Linked DNA regions of Homo sapiens: all the other regions are linked to region 1. Evidence: promoter capture Hi-C in 16 types of primary human blood cells and fetal thymus (Javierre and others, 2016). All regions are on one chromosome and are shown on one strand. Each heading gives the region's core, a stretch centred on a gene start or on the middle of the fragment in contact. The rest is flanking DNA. Distances are from core to core; before and after follow the strand shown. Region 1 holds the start of NEK7 (NIMA related kinase 7). Region 2 overlaps PTPRC (protein tyrosine phosphatase receptor type C). Region 3 has its middle 29 kb from the start of PTPRC. Region 4 holds the start of LOC105371677 (a long non-coding RNA gene). Region 5 overlaps LOC105371677 (a long non-coding RNA gene).

Evidence for each region. Contacts are between HindIII fragments. The CHiCAGO score rates a contact against its expected background, and 5 or more counts as called.
Region 2: a contact is called between a fragment that was not itself captured here and the fragment with the promoter of NEK7 in region 1, in 8 of 17 cell types (monocytes, fetal thymus, erythroblasts and 5 more). The highest score is 7.5, in monocytes.
Region 3: a contact is called between a fragment that was not itself captured here and the fragment with the promoter of NEK7 in region 1, in 3 of 17 cell types (naive CD4 T cells, fetal thymus and activated CD4 T cells). The highest score is 7.6, in naive CD4 T cells.
Region 4: a fragment that was not itself captured here is called in contact with the fragment with the promoter of NEK7 in region 1 in 4 of 17 cell types (naive CD8 T cells, total CD4 T cells, naive CD4 T cells and 1 more); the score reaches 7.5 in naive CD8 T cells.
Region 5: a fragment that was not itself captured here is called in contact with the fragment with the promoter of NEK7 in region 1 in 12 of 17 cell types (endothelial precursors, megakaryocytes, M1 macrophages and 9 more); the score reaches 16.3 in endothelial precursors.

The regions. Positions count from the first base shown.
Region 1 is chr1:198,155,519-198,158,328 of GRCh38, reverse strand. It overlaps NEK7 (NIMA related kinase 7), which reads right to left and starts at 1,331. Exons shown (of 10, transcript NM_133494.3): 1 at 1,053-1,331. RefSeq lists enhancers at 606-655, 2,086-2,145 and a silencer at 896-1,495. The HindIII fragment of the contact is 2,805 bases long and covers 1-2,223 here.
Region 2 is chr1:198,641,293-198,644,102 of GRCh38, reverse strand. The region is part of intron 2 of PTPRC (protein tyrosine phosphatase receptor type C); the gene reads right to left. Among named protein-coding and RNA genes, the nearest start is that of PTPRC, 3.7 kb to the right of the region's middle. The HindIII fragment of the contact is 4,043 bases long and covers 1-2,810 here.
Region 3 is chr1:198,608,878-198,611,687 of GRCh38, reverse strand. No RefSeq gene overlaps it. Among named protein-coding and RNA genes, the nearest start is that of PTPRC, 29 kb to the left of the region's middle. The HindIII fragment of the contact is 806 bases long and covers 941-1,746 here.
Region 4 is chr1:198,518,064-198,520,873 of GRCh38, reverse strand. It overlaps LOC105371677 (a long non-coding RNA gene), which reads left to right and starts at 1,064. Exons shown (of 2, transcript XR_922398.3): 1 at 1,064-1,323. The HindIII fragment of the contact is 3,154 bases long and covers 1-2,810 here.
Region 5 is chr1:198,466,210-198,469,019 of GRCh38, reverse strand. The region is part of intron 1 of LOC105371677 (a long non-coding RNA gene); the gene reads left to right. Among named protein-coding and RNA genes, the nearest start is that of ATP6V1G3, 73 kb to the left of the region's middle. The HindIII fragment of the contact is 805 bases long and covers 1,028-1,832 here.

The sequences.
Region 1 (2,810 bases), core at 82-2,581:
TGCATCCTTGAGCTCAGTAACCTCAAAGGAGAATAATCATTTTATTTCTGTGTATTTCTGATTTTCAGTTCAGTCACCAGAATTGCGCAAGGACAGTAACATGTATCTTACTGTAAACTAAGTATATTTTTTAGCATTTCTCCCCAGTGAGGACTACAGCAAGGTGAGAACACGATACATCATCTCTCCGCGACCCCAGTACGCTCCCAGTGCAAGACTAAATAGAGGATGCTGCGGTTTTAGGAGTGAAGGCCTACAGTGTAACAGAGGCAACAGAAGTTCTTTAGCTCTCAAGGCAGCATCCTCTAGGTTGTGCTCGCTTCCTTACACTGTTCTGCGGTCATACGGTCTTGTCACTTTTCTCTGTTTTCCTTTGGCTACCCTTCTCTGACTTTGGCCTCAGTTTTCAATTTCTTTTCCATTGCCACCATCACCAGCAATGTTCGCTATTGCCTCGCAATCCCTCTCTCCGACATTTTGTAATCCCGAGTCTCTCCCAAGTTCATTCTCCGACAGACCTCTCACGCTCCCTGTACTTCTGAAGCCACTTCGGATTCTCCCCTATCTGCCGGCTCCCACCACCCACTCTCTCCCAGCGCACTTCACTTTCCTAAGTCGGGCTGCTGCCGAATCCTGACAGACGGACTTCACCAATCCGCGAGAGATAAATAACCGACGTCGCCAATGAGCATCCGCCGGAAGGCGGGACTTCGCTTAAGTTCCTCGGGTCCCGAAACCAAAGACCTGTTGCCGCCGCCGCCGTGGCCACGGAGTTTCTTAGTTACCGCGGCGCCCTTGGCGGCCTCGGGCCTCTAGAGCCGGGGCCAGGTATGAAGTTTCCTGCCGCCCCCTCCCACCGCTGCCAACGAACAAGACCGAAACCCCCATCCGCCTCGAGCGCAGCGCGCCCCGCCCCACCTACCCCGAGCGAGGGTATCCCGGAGGCCGCCCCGCGCGGTCCCGACCTCCCTCTCCCGGCCCGACTCCCGCAGGCGGCCCCTCCCGGCAGGAGCTGCCCGGTCCGGGCGCCTGAACCCTGGGCAGCGACTCACCAGGAAGTTGGGAGTTTTCCGTTCTCCCGCCCGCGAGAGACCTTGGGCGGGCGGGTGGCTCGGCGCGGCGCCGCCGTCGGAAAGCGCGCTGGGCCGGGGGCTGAGGCTGCGAGGCCCGGAGCCTGTCGGCCACCTCCCGCCGCGCCGCCCCGGCGGACGCTGCAGGCGCGGGGCACCCACCCTGCGCACTGCGAGGCGCGTCCGGAGTGCGAGCCTAGCGGCGGCCCATCCTCCCGCGACTCCCGATCCTCCTCCTGCTGCCGCCGCTGTCAGGAGTGTAAACATCCCGGCATCCCCGAGGAGAGGGGCGGGGCGGGCGCCGGCCCCACCCCGCGTCGTGAGTCCAGGCCGGCTGCCCGATGGAGGCTTCCCGCCTGCGTCCCCGGCGCTCCCTGGAGCTGGGGGAGCCTCGGCGGTTTCCCTACTGGAGCCGAAGTCGCTCTGGAGGAGCCCCTCCTGGCCCCTCTCTTCCGGTTGTCAGGCCTAGCGTGGTGCGGGGCACCGCGTCCGGTCCCCTGAGCCCTCTTCCCCGGCTGCTTTTTAAGAACCCAGGGTCGGCTGCTTTTTAAGAACTTGTTTTTTCTTCATTTATATGTAAGTGCCCCCACTTGCAAGCGGTGAACCGACTTACTGATGTTCCCTTCTGGACCACAGCGTTTGTGATCCCATCTTCTTTTACCAGGTGATTTAAACTACCTCTGTGTTTAATGTGGAGTGCAGGGAAATGAGAAAAAAAAAAAAAGGCGTTTTCCTGAGTCTGGCTAAGCAAACGTTGCATGAAAGTGTCCCAGCATAGAGGACAGGGGCTTCAACAACATTCCAGAAGGTAAACTCCCTGGTGTGGTACGGAGGATCTTTGAAATAAATATGTGCAAAATCACCCAGAACCCTAGTACACGAAACTGCAAAAGGAATGCTTTGACACCAGCAGCTTCACGACTTAAGTTAACAGGGCATGAACTACTCGAGGAGACGGCTAGGAGGCAGTATGGAGTCGGCCATACCTTAATTGTCGTCTCAACTCAGTGATTAATTTTGTGACCTGGCTGCAAGTTATTTAACCTCTCCAAGTCTCAGTAACTCTCTGTAAAAGGAGATTAGTTGTAATACCAACCTCTAGGACCATAGTTAGAATTAAGTGAGATAAAGCAAAGTGCTTAACCACAAAGCTTGGCATATAAGACGTGCTCATTAAATTGTTGCTGTTGTTCATAGGTCTCTCACTAGTTTAACTTCCCTGACAAAAAGATTAGAGCCAAGAATGAGTAGATTATACCTCAAACATTTAAAATGTTAAAGCCATGAAATTAAGATCTGGAAAGTTTATTTTTAAAAAGAAAAATGGCCGGGCGCAGTGGCTCATGGCTGTAAGCCTAGCATTTTGGGAGGCCAAGTGGGGGGGGGGGTGATCACCTGAGGTCAGGAGTTCGAGACCAGCCTGGCCAACATGGCGAAACCCTGTCTCTACTAAAAATACAAAAACTAGCCGAGCGTGGTGGCAGGAGTCTATAATCCCAGCTACTGGGGAGGCTGAGGCAAAAGAATCGCTTGAACCCGAGGCGGGGAGGAGGTTGCAGTGAGCAGAGATCGCGTTACTTCACTCCAGCGTGGGTGAAAGAGCGAAAATCCGTCTCAAAAAAATAAATAAATAAATGAAAACGTTCACGATCTCAAAAGGAGGCCTTGATTCATGTGGCTCAACAAATATTCATAAATGGGCTAGGCAATGTTCTAAGGAATGAGGATACAACAGCTCAC
Region 2 (2,810 bases), core at 232-2,731, 490 kb before region 1:
ATTTCTCTCTCTGCACCAAGGTGACATATACACACATGGTCTGAAGATGAAACCTTGCCTTTGTGAACATTGTGTATTTACCAAGAGAATGAATCAACCTCAGTACAAATCTCTGCCCCTTACCTACTCAGATTGACATTCATCACCACACTGTCTGTAAAGAAATTATTCCCAGCTCTCTACAAACTTTTGTCGTGCAAATAATGCAACACCTAGGGTGCACCATATTCCATCTGCCCTTGCAAGCAATCCCAGAGCACTAGCATCAGTGTTCAAACCAGCAATTGCCATGACTGGACCTGATCTGTTTGTGTTATCACTCCGCTACATTTGTATTTCCCTCCCATTCCTTGCTTTTTCTCCTATGGGTATGTGTATCTGAAAAATAAAATTGACCCTCCAAATTACATTACCTAGAATGTCCAAAGAGCAGATCAAAGAAAATTTAGGAAAAACATTCTCAAACTATGAACTTTTAGGAAGTCAGGAGGCTCTTTCCAGACGAGAGGTGAGATAAGGAGAGTAAGAAAGGGAGCAAAGAAAAAACAAACAAACAAACAAACAAAAACAAAAAGGCAAGACTGTAAACATCTAGATCCAAAATCAACTTAATTTAATCTGGACAAAATAGTCCTGCTGTCTTCATCCTCCCACTTCGCCTCTGGTTAATTTTTTTATCTCATATTCTCCCTCTTTTTGACTTCCCTCTTTGAAAATTTTCCTTTCCTTTGTCACTACAATATGCAGTTTTATTTTTTTAATCTATGATTTATTCAGTGTCTGGTGAAAAATTAGGTATGGGAACTATGAGTTTATGCCTTTTGTGTCTCCTATACCTGATTTCATGTAGGTTACAATGTCAAGAAATCCACTAATTCACATGTCATCATCATCATCAATCATCATCACAAAAAAGAGCAGATTGAAATGACTTGAAAAATGCCAAGAAAAGGTGATAAAAAGTGTGCAATTCAATGGAAATATTTTGTGGCAAAAGTGACATAAGAGAACATAATAGAAGAAGTAGGATTTGCCCAGAACCTTAAACACCTTGAGAAAGTATAGAGGTGGGTGTTAAAACTACCTCCTGTTTGTTTTCTTTTAATCAATCATAGAAGAAAAAGAAAGAAAAAAGAAAGAAAGAAAGAAAGAAAGAAAGAAAGAAAGAAAGAAAGAAAGAAAGAAAGAAAGAAAGGAAGAAAGAAAGAAAAGAAAAAAGATCCCTTCCCAGCTCCAGGCCTAGCCCCCAGATCATTAGTGGAACCAGTTTCTCTGGCAAAAAAGATTAGAATTTATACCAAAGGCAATGAGAAGAAATCAGTAACCCTTCACTTTTTATTTTACTTTTTAAGCTGTAGATTACATTAAAAAAAGGATGAGACTTCAGACTGATTAAAAAAACTATTACAATTTTACAGGTGAGAAATAATAAAGCCATGAATTAAGATGATGGCAATGGAGGTGTCAAAGCAAGAAGTTATTAGAGATTATTACAAAGCAAAATTTCAGGACTTGGGGAGCATGTTAATGTCTGGATTTAGGAAAGGTAGTAAGTTCCGTGTTTCTGAGGGATGAGTCTAGAGATGGAGAATCAGAGTGATCAACACATAGTAGGCAATGATACGTAACCAAATGGAGAAAAGAGAACACAGGCGAAGGTCTGAAGTTCATGGGAACGCCAAATAGACAAACATGGAGAACTGATAGATAGATAGATAGATAGATAGATAGACAGATAGATAGATTGACTAGTATATATAACCCACAAATATATAACTAGTTTATGTGTGAGTATCTACATAAAGAAATATATGTTCAAGTATATGAACAATGTAGAAACATCTATATTTCTATACTGGTTAATTGTCACTGGTGAGAGGATAGCAAATAGTCCAGAACAAAGAAAGAACTAAGTTCAAGCTAACTACTCTGCCCCTATACTTACTTACACAGAACAAAAGAGAAAAAGATAATATAGGCCCTAGCCGTAGTCTTTCCTGTAACAAAGTACATTTCAAACTTTAGCAATGATAAAGGTCACAGGCAGGTTTTTAGTAGGACATTTTTTTTCAAATTAATAAGTAATTCTAATCACATTCCCAAATCTCTAAATTATGGAGTATTTAGAACTTAATAGGACTGCTTACCAAATTCAATTAAATAATTTTCATTGAATGTCTGTGATGTGCAAGGCACAGTCCATGTTTATAACATGAGATATATATTTTTAATACAGATGGAAAAATGAAGAATTATGTCCAGGAAATGAGTCTTAACTGTTATGACTCATAACAAAACTCATCATATACCTCACATACCATAACTCATATACTCCTAACTGCCATGCTATAGTGTGGTAGATCTGCCTGGCATTACAACTTTATTAGAACCAGAGAACACTCACCTTCACCTGCCTTCTTAAAACCATCATTGTCCCCTAACATTATTTAGAAATTCTAAACAAAGTTTGGCTTCCAGTTGCCATGGCAAAGAGGCACAGAGCAAGAGGATTAGGAAGTCTTGAGTAAAACTGAACCCTGCCTGGTTGTTGCCGTGGCAAAGATTAACTTTGGCCTTGTCCGTGTGTGCATTTTAGATATTAAATAAAATATTTGAATTATGCATAGAGTTACCATTGATGGCTCTCTACATTTGGCTCTATTTCTTTATGCCTTTACAGCATACAATATAAATTTTGTTCCCCAAAAGTTTATTATTTCCTGTAGGCACTAAACTAATTTTAACACGTTAAAATGAAACATAGAATCCAACTCATTTGTTGCTAAAAAAGAAAAATAAATAATTTAAAG
Region 3 (2,810 bases), core at 94-2,593, 450 kb before region 1:
TAGCATCCCTATCTCTCAGTTTCTGTGGGAGGGTAGAATTCTAACTTCCTCCATGGGCATGTTGCTCCAAGTTGTAAAACTACCTCTTGTCACAGAGACATGATAAGTTTGTTTCTCCCCTGGATAAAGTCAATCAGCTAACGGAAATGTTGACCTTAATCACCATGGGAAAGTTATGACAAATTATGTGTGAGTGTTAAGTCTTCTTACTTGAAGACTAGTTATTGTTTTTATTGAAAACGTGCATGCAATGGGTTACATCTCCTTGGCTATACATATGGGGGCGAGAGTCCTTTCCGCCTTGGTACTCTCTTAGCAGATTGCTTGTGAAGTGCAACATAGTCTGGCTTAATGCTTGTCTTCTAATGCTTAGCTCTAGTACCTTTGTGGAGAGAATTTCTGGGTTAGGAGATGATTTTGGTTTTAATTGTATTTTCATAACACATATCAAGGTTGAATCCGAACTGAACCATCTGAGACTCAAGAACACATTGCAAAATAAAGAAGCTCCTGCCTGGCCAGACTCCTTTATGTCTATTCCCAACAAACTAAATAGATCACTCGGCCAGAGGTAAATTGTTCTGGTGAAGGACAAGCAGAAGGGAGAGTCAACCCTACAATCTAGACACTTTAAATCAGAATCCCTTTCTTTGGTTCTCTCTCAGTAAATGTGTGCAGCTATGTAAGGGTCCTGTCCAAGAACATGATCTCATGTTGAAGAAATAAAGGCAGATACTGGATTCCACTGTTCAAGAGCTCAGAAATGAAACAGAGGTAAAGTTACCTGGAAGCTATTGAAGTATTTCAAGGTCTCTGGCTTATATGAGCCCTTTTCAAAGTCCTAGAAGATATTTAGGTGGTTTTGTTTTTATAAAATTTGCAAAAGTAAGATCTTTCTGTATTCCTTTCGATGAAGAAGACCAGCTAAATCATAAAAGCTTTAGGCTCCTGCTATGAAACGAAAAAAAGAAATAGCAAGGGAGCAAGAAAGTGTGGAAGAGTGTCACTGAATTTATGCATGTTCTAAAGACAGGATTTTCATATGAAAGTAGACACTTTCCAAAAATAGCTACTACAATTCTTAGAATTTTCTTCAAATTCCTGCCAAGTAATAGAAAACTTCAGTTACCCAAATGACCTAAATTCTTGACATTTAACTAAAAAAACCTGTCAGAAAATAGTTCACCAGTACATCTGCTTTTCTTCCACATAATTTATTTCACACAATTAAATACTGACAGCTAAAAAGAAAATAGCATAATCATTACAATGTTAGGTACCATCTTTTGAAAACAGAATGTTTTTGAAATTGGCAAATTTTAAGAATTTAGGAGCTTAAATTATAAAATATGAAAGTACAATATGAATATTATTTTGCTCTGACATACTGAAATATTTCAGCAAACATGCATAAATCGTTATTTATATGTAACTTGTTCATTTTATTATTATAAATATGTTAGGGCATGTGGCAGAAGGAAATGACAACCCTTTGTCCAAACCTCCTTATTTCTAAAAGTTTCTAAATTAAAATAATAACATTCATTAAGTGTAACCCCAAGTGGGTTCAGGTATGGGGATATACAGAAAAAGCAGTCAGTAAAGGTTAATTTAAATGTTTTGTAATGTATGCAAACCTCTAATATGAAAGGGGATATAAAGGACATCCTCAAGCCTGCTGGAATTCTGAAGGATCCTGGGAATGATCTCTCTTACTTTGTGAAGGCGTAGAGTTTTACTGAAGCTTTTACCTTCAGTAAAGGATGGAAGCATGAGACTGGCAAGGGATAGACAGATTTGGGAGTGTGCAGATGTGCATTGGAGGCAGATGACCTGGGCTGGCTTTTTATGGGCCCCACTCCACTCCTGTTCTGGAGGAGCTAGCTTTTAAAAGATTTACTCTATGAGGCCTATGGGGTTGTTGAAGTTGGCTAGAACTTTAGCTTTTATCTTTCCTTCATCCGAATTTCCTGTGAGAGTCCCCTTGACTTTCACAAAATGAATGTGCTATAGAAGCTAAAAGAACAGTATAACAAGAATGGAGATTTCACCTACCACATTATTTTTTCGAATCCAGCGGATGAGGTGCTTTGGCCTATTCATTGTCTGCCACTTGGAATTCCACATGGACAAAGATGGTAGTTGAATCCTCTGGAGCAAGAGCAGTGTCTGGATGTGATGTGTGTAAGAGGTAGAGTGAGGCCAATTCAAGCTAGCTGACAATTCCTCTTGGGCACACAGGTGGTAAGGGAGAGCTACAGGCACCATGGGATCAAAAGACAAGCTACAGGCACCATGGGATCAAAAGACAAGACCTCAACAAACCATGCATTACACACAGATTCTTATTTTTTATGTTCTTCTGTAAATAAAATAATCTTAATGATTTAACAAATATCAGCATTTGTTGCAATAGAAGTCCTTTCCAACCAGACTCAAAGCCCCTGAAGTTGCCTCAGTTTTGTTTATTTGTTTGATGGTTTTGGCTTTTGTTTTTGGTTTTATTTGGACATTGGTTTTTGGTTCTGTCTTTATGATACAATAACATATAGTGATTCTCAAGAAGCAGTGCTGTGTTTGGTAATACCTGCTAATTCATTATTAATAAATTACTAATAATATAAAATAGTAATCATTGGATTCTTGTTCAAAAACAGAAAAGATAAAAATTCTCTTATTATTCACAATTAATTAAGTTATCTTAGCAGCTCAAATGTAAATACTACAGACTAATGAATTAGTTGCTTACATTTTATTAGTAAATAAATCAATGCAATTTTTCTTTTTAGAAATGAACACAAATAATGTTT
Region 4 (2,810 bases), core at 129-2,628, 360 kb before region 1:
TTTCTCAACAATCTCACGTTTATTCTAAACACTGTATTGTTAAGAGTATGTGCTGTTGCTGCCCCCAATATCCTAGATTCTGTGTAGTTTGCATATTTTTACATTCAAATATGGTTTCACATCTTTGCCTAACTGAATGAGTCATTTTCTAAGAACTCTCACACCTTCACAGATGGTAGAGCTGCCAGGTTTTACTTTATTTACATATGAAAAGGTTTTATGTATTTCAGAGCTAGCTCACTTATCTGTGAGAGCTTTCTCAGTCACAGAAAAAAAGTTGACTTTTTTGTACGTATACTTATACTAAAAGGCTTTTTCTGTTCCGATAGATCTTCACACAGAAATAGAATAGTGTTAGCATGTTTTTAATTGGTCTTTACCCTTGTTTTGATCCTTTGCACAATCAGAAACTACAAAATGAAAAATTATTCCATTGAGTTCTTACTCATTTCCATTGCACTTAAAAACAAAACCATGCAATTTACAGGCTTGCAAAGGAATGCAAGGATTTCGGTTTTTATTCTCGATGTTAGCACACAAATACACACAAAGTCAGGAATTGTCATCAATGCATCACAGCCATTACTTTCTAGATGGATAGAGCTAGTAGAAGAGAGTTGGCCAGAGTGTGCAGAAAGCTGCCACCTTTGAAATATCCCAGCTGAGGCCATTCTAGGTCTAGCCAACCCCCAACATGTCAGAGTCCAGCCTAAATCAGCACAGCCACATTACCTGCCACCGACCATGAATGCAGGCATGAGCAAAGAGGACATCGTATGAGCCACCCGGAAAACTCATAGACTCATGAGCAATAATAAACATTTTAAGCCACTGAGTTTTAGGGTGATGCGTTATGAAGCAATAGCTAACTGCTATACCGATTGAATATTGCCTTAAAAAGGAGAGGGTGACCAACTGTCTTGAATGCTGCTTAGTGTTCAAGTAAAATAGGACAGAGATGTGACTGTTAGATTTACATATGTGGAGGAGGAGTTTGAGGAGAGAAAGTGTGGTGAGAAAGCTAGAGATAGCAGTTATAGATAACTACAAAACTATAAAAATGATCAGAGAAATGGGGCTGCAGCTTGAGACAGATGTGTGTCAAGCACGTGTTTCTTGTCTGGACTAGGAAATGTTATCGCATATTCATATGCTGATTGAAATTCCTCTAGAGGAGAAAGAATCTCTATGACGAATAGAGAGGGGAACTATTGCAGAAGCAAAGTCCTTGAGAAGGCAGGAAGCCTAGAATTCAGATCCGAAGTAGAAGAATTGGCCTTCAACAGGAAGATGACCATGGGCATGGATTGACAAACATAGTAGGTAAGTAGATCTAGTGGTAGGAAGATGAGAAAGTTCCTATTTACCACTAATTTCAAACTAAATTCGAGGACAATGATCAGCTGAGAATGAGGAGTAATTTTAGGGGACTTATCAAACACGAGAAAGGGTAAAATGGTCATTTTAGAAAGTAAGAAGATTACTATGCTAGGAAAGTGTAATAGGATTATCAAGCAGCACTGTATGTCTAAATGAGGCTTATTGTCATAGTTTTAAAATGAGATTAAGTCAGTTGTGTGTTTTCCTCTGGTCATGGTGAGTTGCTCAACTGCAGGAAGAGAGTAGGCAGGTAGTCTGATTTCACCTCTAAATTCATCATCAAAGACTTGAGATTAGCTCCCTTGTCCTGTGTCTTTTAACTCTAAAGTTGAACTGAAATAATTCTTCTTGAAAGACTACTGTGTCCCTAAACTTAAAGAAAAGAAAATTATTGGAAATAAACCACTTAAAAGAAAGATAGAAATCTAAGCATAGAGCTCATTACAAAAATAATGATTCCATTTTATCAACTTGAAGAAATATAACTGTGATAACTGCATGCTTCTCCTATTTCCTGTTCTTCCATCTCAGCTCTCTTGGGACTGCCTAATATTGGCAATGCAAGGAGTTACTAGTGTAGTGAGTTTGCTTACTTCCAAGAGTCACCTGAAAAAGCTACTTATCAATGACATAAATGACTGGAGGACCTTATGTCCCGTGCAATGTTAACTATTCATTTACTCACTCACTTATTCAGCCATAATTATTGAATTATGTGATAACATACATTTGAGATTGGTAGTAGAAATACAGACATGGCTATTACCAAAAGTGACAAGTCCTGTATTCTTACTCCTACCACTTCCAGTGACCCAGCTCCTCAAGTCCAGTTTAAGATAAGGTACATTTTGAGTGAACTGGGGTTCTCTGTGCCATCTAATAAACTAAACTCCTGCAATAGGTATTGTGAACATAAAGAATATTTAATACTGTGTAGTTTAACACAGTAATTAAGATCACCATCCCTCAGACTAGACTATTTGGATTCATATATAAGTAGCAAATATAAGTGTCTATAATAATGGTAATTATTATTATAGTTGAAAAAAACTAAACCAAATAGGCTGACATAAAGACAAAATGAGTGTGGAAGGAGGTTACGAGGGAGAGAATGCCAGAAAAATCACTGTAACTTCTTTTGCAGACAGTTTAAATAGACCATTATGAAATTCCCTTATTTTTAAACTAGAGTAACTAAACTGTTTCTTCATGTTCAGTTAAGTAGAATCCAATGGAACAGAAGTTTCACTGAGCCTGTTTTATCATGCTAGCACTTCCACTGAAAAAGTATCTGTAACTGTTAACTTGTTATCATTTTTATTAATGTGTAATCAATTAATAAGAACATATGTGTTCCACAGACAAATCCCAAAGATATTTAAATAGAGATAACAGTGAATATGAGAGCCTTGCCAATATTCTGAAGACCT
Region 5 (2,810 bases), core at 181-2,680, 310 kb before region 1:
CAATCAAATGTTTCCTACACTTACAGCAGCTATAGTTAAAGAAGTCCATGTACTAATTAATTTGAATTTGCTGTTTCATCATTGCATGCCAATTTATAGACAATACAAGCACACACAAAATTAAGTTCCTTGAACATAGTTAGACTTAAACCAATGTTAATTTTTATTTCCTTTCAAAGTCATTATCTGCTTTTAGATTGGACTTTCATTTTGTAACAAAGAGAATAATTTTTTAAAATTATATTTTTTAAAAATAGAGAAAGTTGGCTGTTTTTGATGGCCCACAGAAAAACTAAAATATAATTAAGGGAGAACAGATACATAGGTATGAAACTTGGTTGGGTACTTTCACTGATACTTGCACAAATTACATATTTACCTATGTTATGCCACTTCTAGAAGATGCTTGTTTAATATATAACATTATCTTTTACTGTTTTCACCTTAATTTAATTTCAAAAAATCTTTTTATAAATGGCTAGTATGTTTTGTAAATTCATGCATTCAACAAATGACCATCCACAGATACTGCATGCAAGGCTCTGTGCTGTCCTCTAGATGATGCAGAGATGGTTGATTTCTGGAATCTACCCACAGATGCCAGATTTACAAGAGGATAATAAAGTTTAAACATGTTCAATACCAAAGATGGTTTTTGGTAATACCCTGCAAAAGTTTAGACAAGACAGAAGGCTGATATTTTCAGGAAAGCAAAAAATAAATAAATAAATAAAATAAAATAAAATTTAAAATAATTCATGCTTTTGTTCCAGAAACATCAAAAAACAGATTTCTTTATTAGCTCATTCTGAGTTGCAAATTTTTTCTGGATGATTTTTTTGTGGTTGCAGCTCACTTGGCATCAGCTCCCTTTTTCTGCCAGCACAGCCAAGGTATTCCACGCGTTCACTGTAAATGGAAGTTTATACTGTGCTGGTGGACTGAGATTCCAGGAAGGAGGGCCTCCATGACATGGACAGACCTAGCTTTGTGGCACAAAGCACAACAGCTAAGTCAAATGAAAGCTTACAGTGGATGATAAAAAATAAATTCAGTCAAACAAATATGTTCTCCTAACTGCTGTAGCAAACTTCTTTCTTTCTCCTGGCTGCCAGCTCTTTTCAAAGATGATTCCCAAAGGCTTTTTTCCTTTGTTTAGGTTTCGTATGGGGTAAATTAATTCATGATTTGTTGTTAAAAAACAGTAAAAACAAAGTAAAACACACACACACACACACAAACACACAAACACCTCTTTCCCTAGTCTTCCTCAAAATACCCACAGGAACCCACCCAATAGAATGGCCTGAAACAAAATACTTTTGTTCAAAGCCAGCAAGTCTGGCAAAGCTGCAAGCTCTGCCCATAGCTACCTGTATCATGGGTAGCTGCAGAGAAATATGCAAACTGGCAAACTGGGTACCTTTTACTGTTTTACAACAATATGTTTTATTGTTCTCTCGCTAAGTTCTTTGCCAAGGGCAAAGAGTACTGAAGTAGCTAGCAACAGCCCAGACACAGCTGTCAGCATGAGCCTTACCACTTCTGGCATTGCTTTTTTAGCCAAGAGGCACTGCAATTGCTTACCAATAAGTTGTGATGAGTTGATAATGCAAGTAGACTAGATCATAAATATTTTAGTATTTAAGCATGCTTTTTCATTTACGGTGACTTAGTGCTGCAATGGCAAAGGACTTTCCCCTAGGATAGGCAATTAGGGATAGGTGGAAATGCATATTAGAACATTTATGATAATGAGAAAACTACTTTTAATTGAGTACATTAAGGCTGATCTACAATGATTAAAGCAAAACTCTATTCAAAATGAAGCTTTATTATCACATTTTAAAACCTATACTATGAAACAATTTTTAACTGAAAAATATTTATAAAATACAACTTTGCATCTCTAGTAACATCAAAACCAAAGTGAATTATCTGAAATGAACAAGAATGGGTAGGAAAAAGAAATTGATTACATATGACTAGCAGCAATTGATATAAAGCTACTCAATACGTTAATGGATCTCTGTACTGAATTTTCATCCACTCTTTAGGAATTCTCATTTAGTGTTTGATACTTCTGAATATTGTATTTAAGGATATTTCATTAAGGCTGGATTGTTTACAACAGTCGTAATTATTGTCCCATTCTCTAGATAACTCTGACACCATGGGTGATGACGCTCTGTATGAAACTTTGCATAAGGCTTTCCCTGCTTGCCTCTCTTGCAGGCAGTGTGAGTGACCCTCTCTCCCTATGTATGCATTTAATTCTTCCTCCCCTTACACTCACTTCCTAACCCTACTCCTCTTCTTACTGTTTCAGATCTAAGCTCTCAAAAACCCCTAAGGAAAAAAAAAGGCAAAGGCACATGTAGCTTTGTCAGTGCATTGGAGGGTATGAGACAGGGTTTGAATGCTAATTCGGCTACCCACTCTAAAATGAGGCTAATGATACTGCACAGTGTGGTTGGGAGATGAAATAACACATGCAAGGGCTTTTAAAATTTTAATGTGCAGAGAAATAGAAAACATTATTCTATTTCAATTCTGAAGAAAAATATGTAAATATGTCACATTTTGTCCCTTGATCAGCAATGGTTCCAAATCAAGAGTGTCTTAACTATGCCTGTTTCCCTCATAAATTTTACATAAAGTTCTGAAAATATTGCCACCATTTTATAAAGGAATGGACGGCAATCAAGGCAGAAACTGTTTGGAAAATAGAGGTTTGTTTGTTTACTTGAGGTGGAAACAATTCTCTCATCTATGTGTTGTTTATTCTCTTCAGTGAACATTTTCCTCTT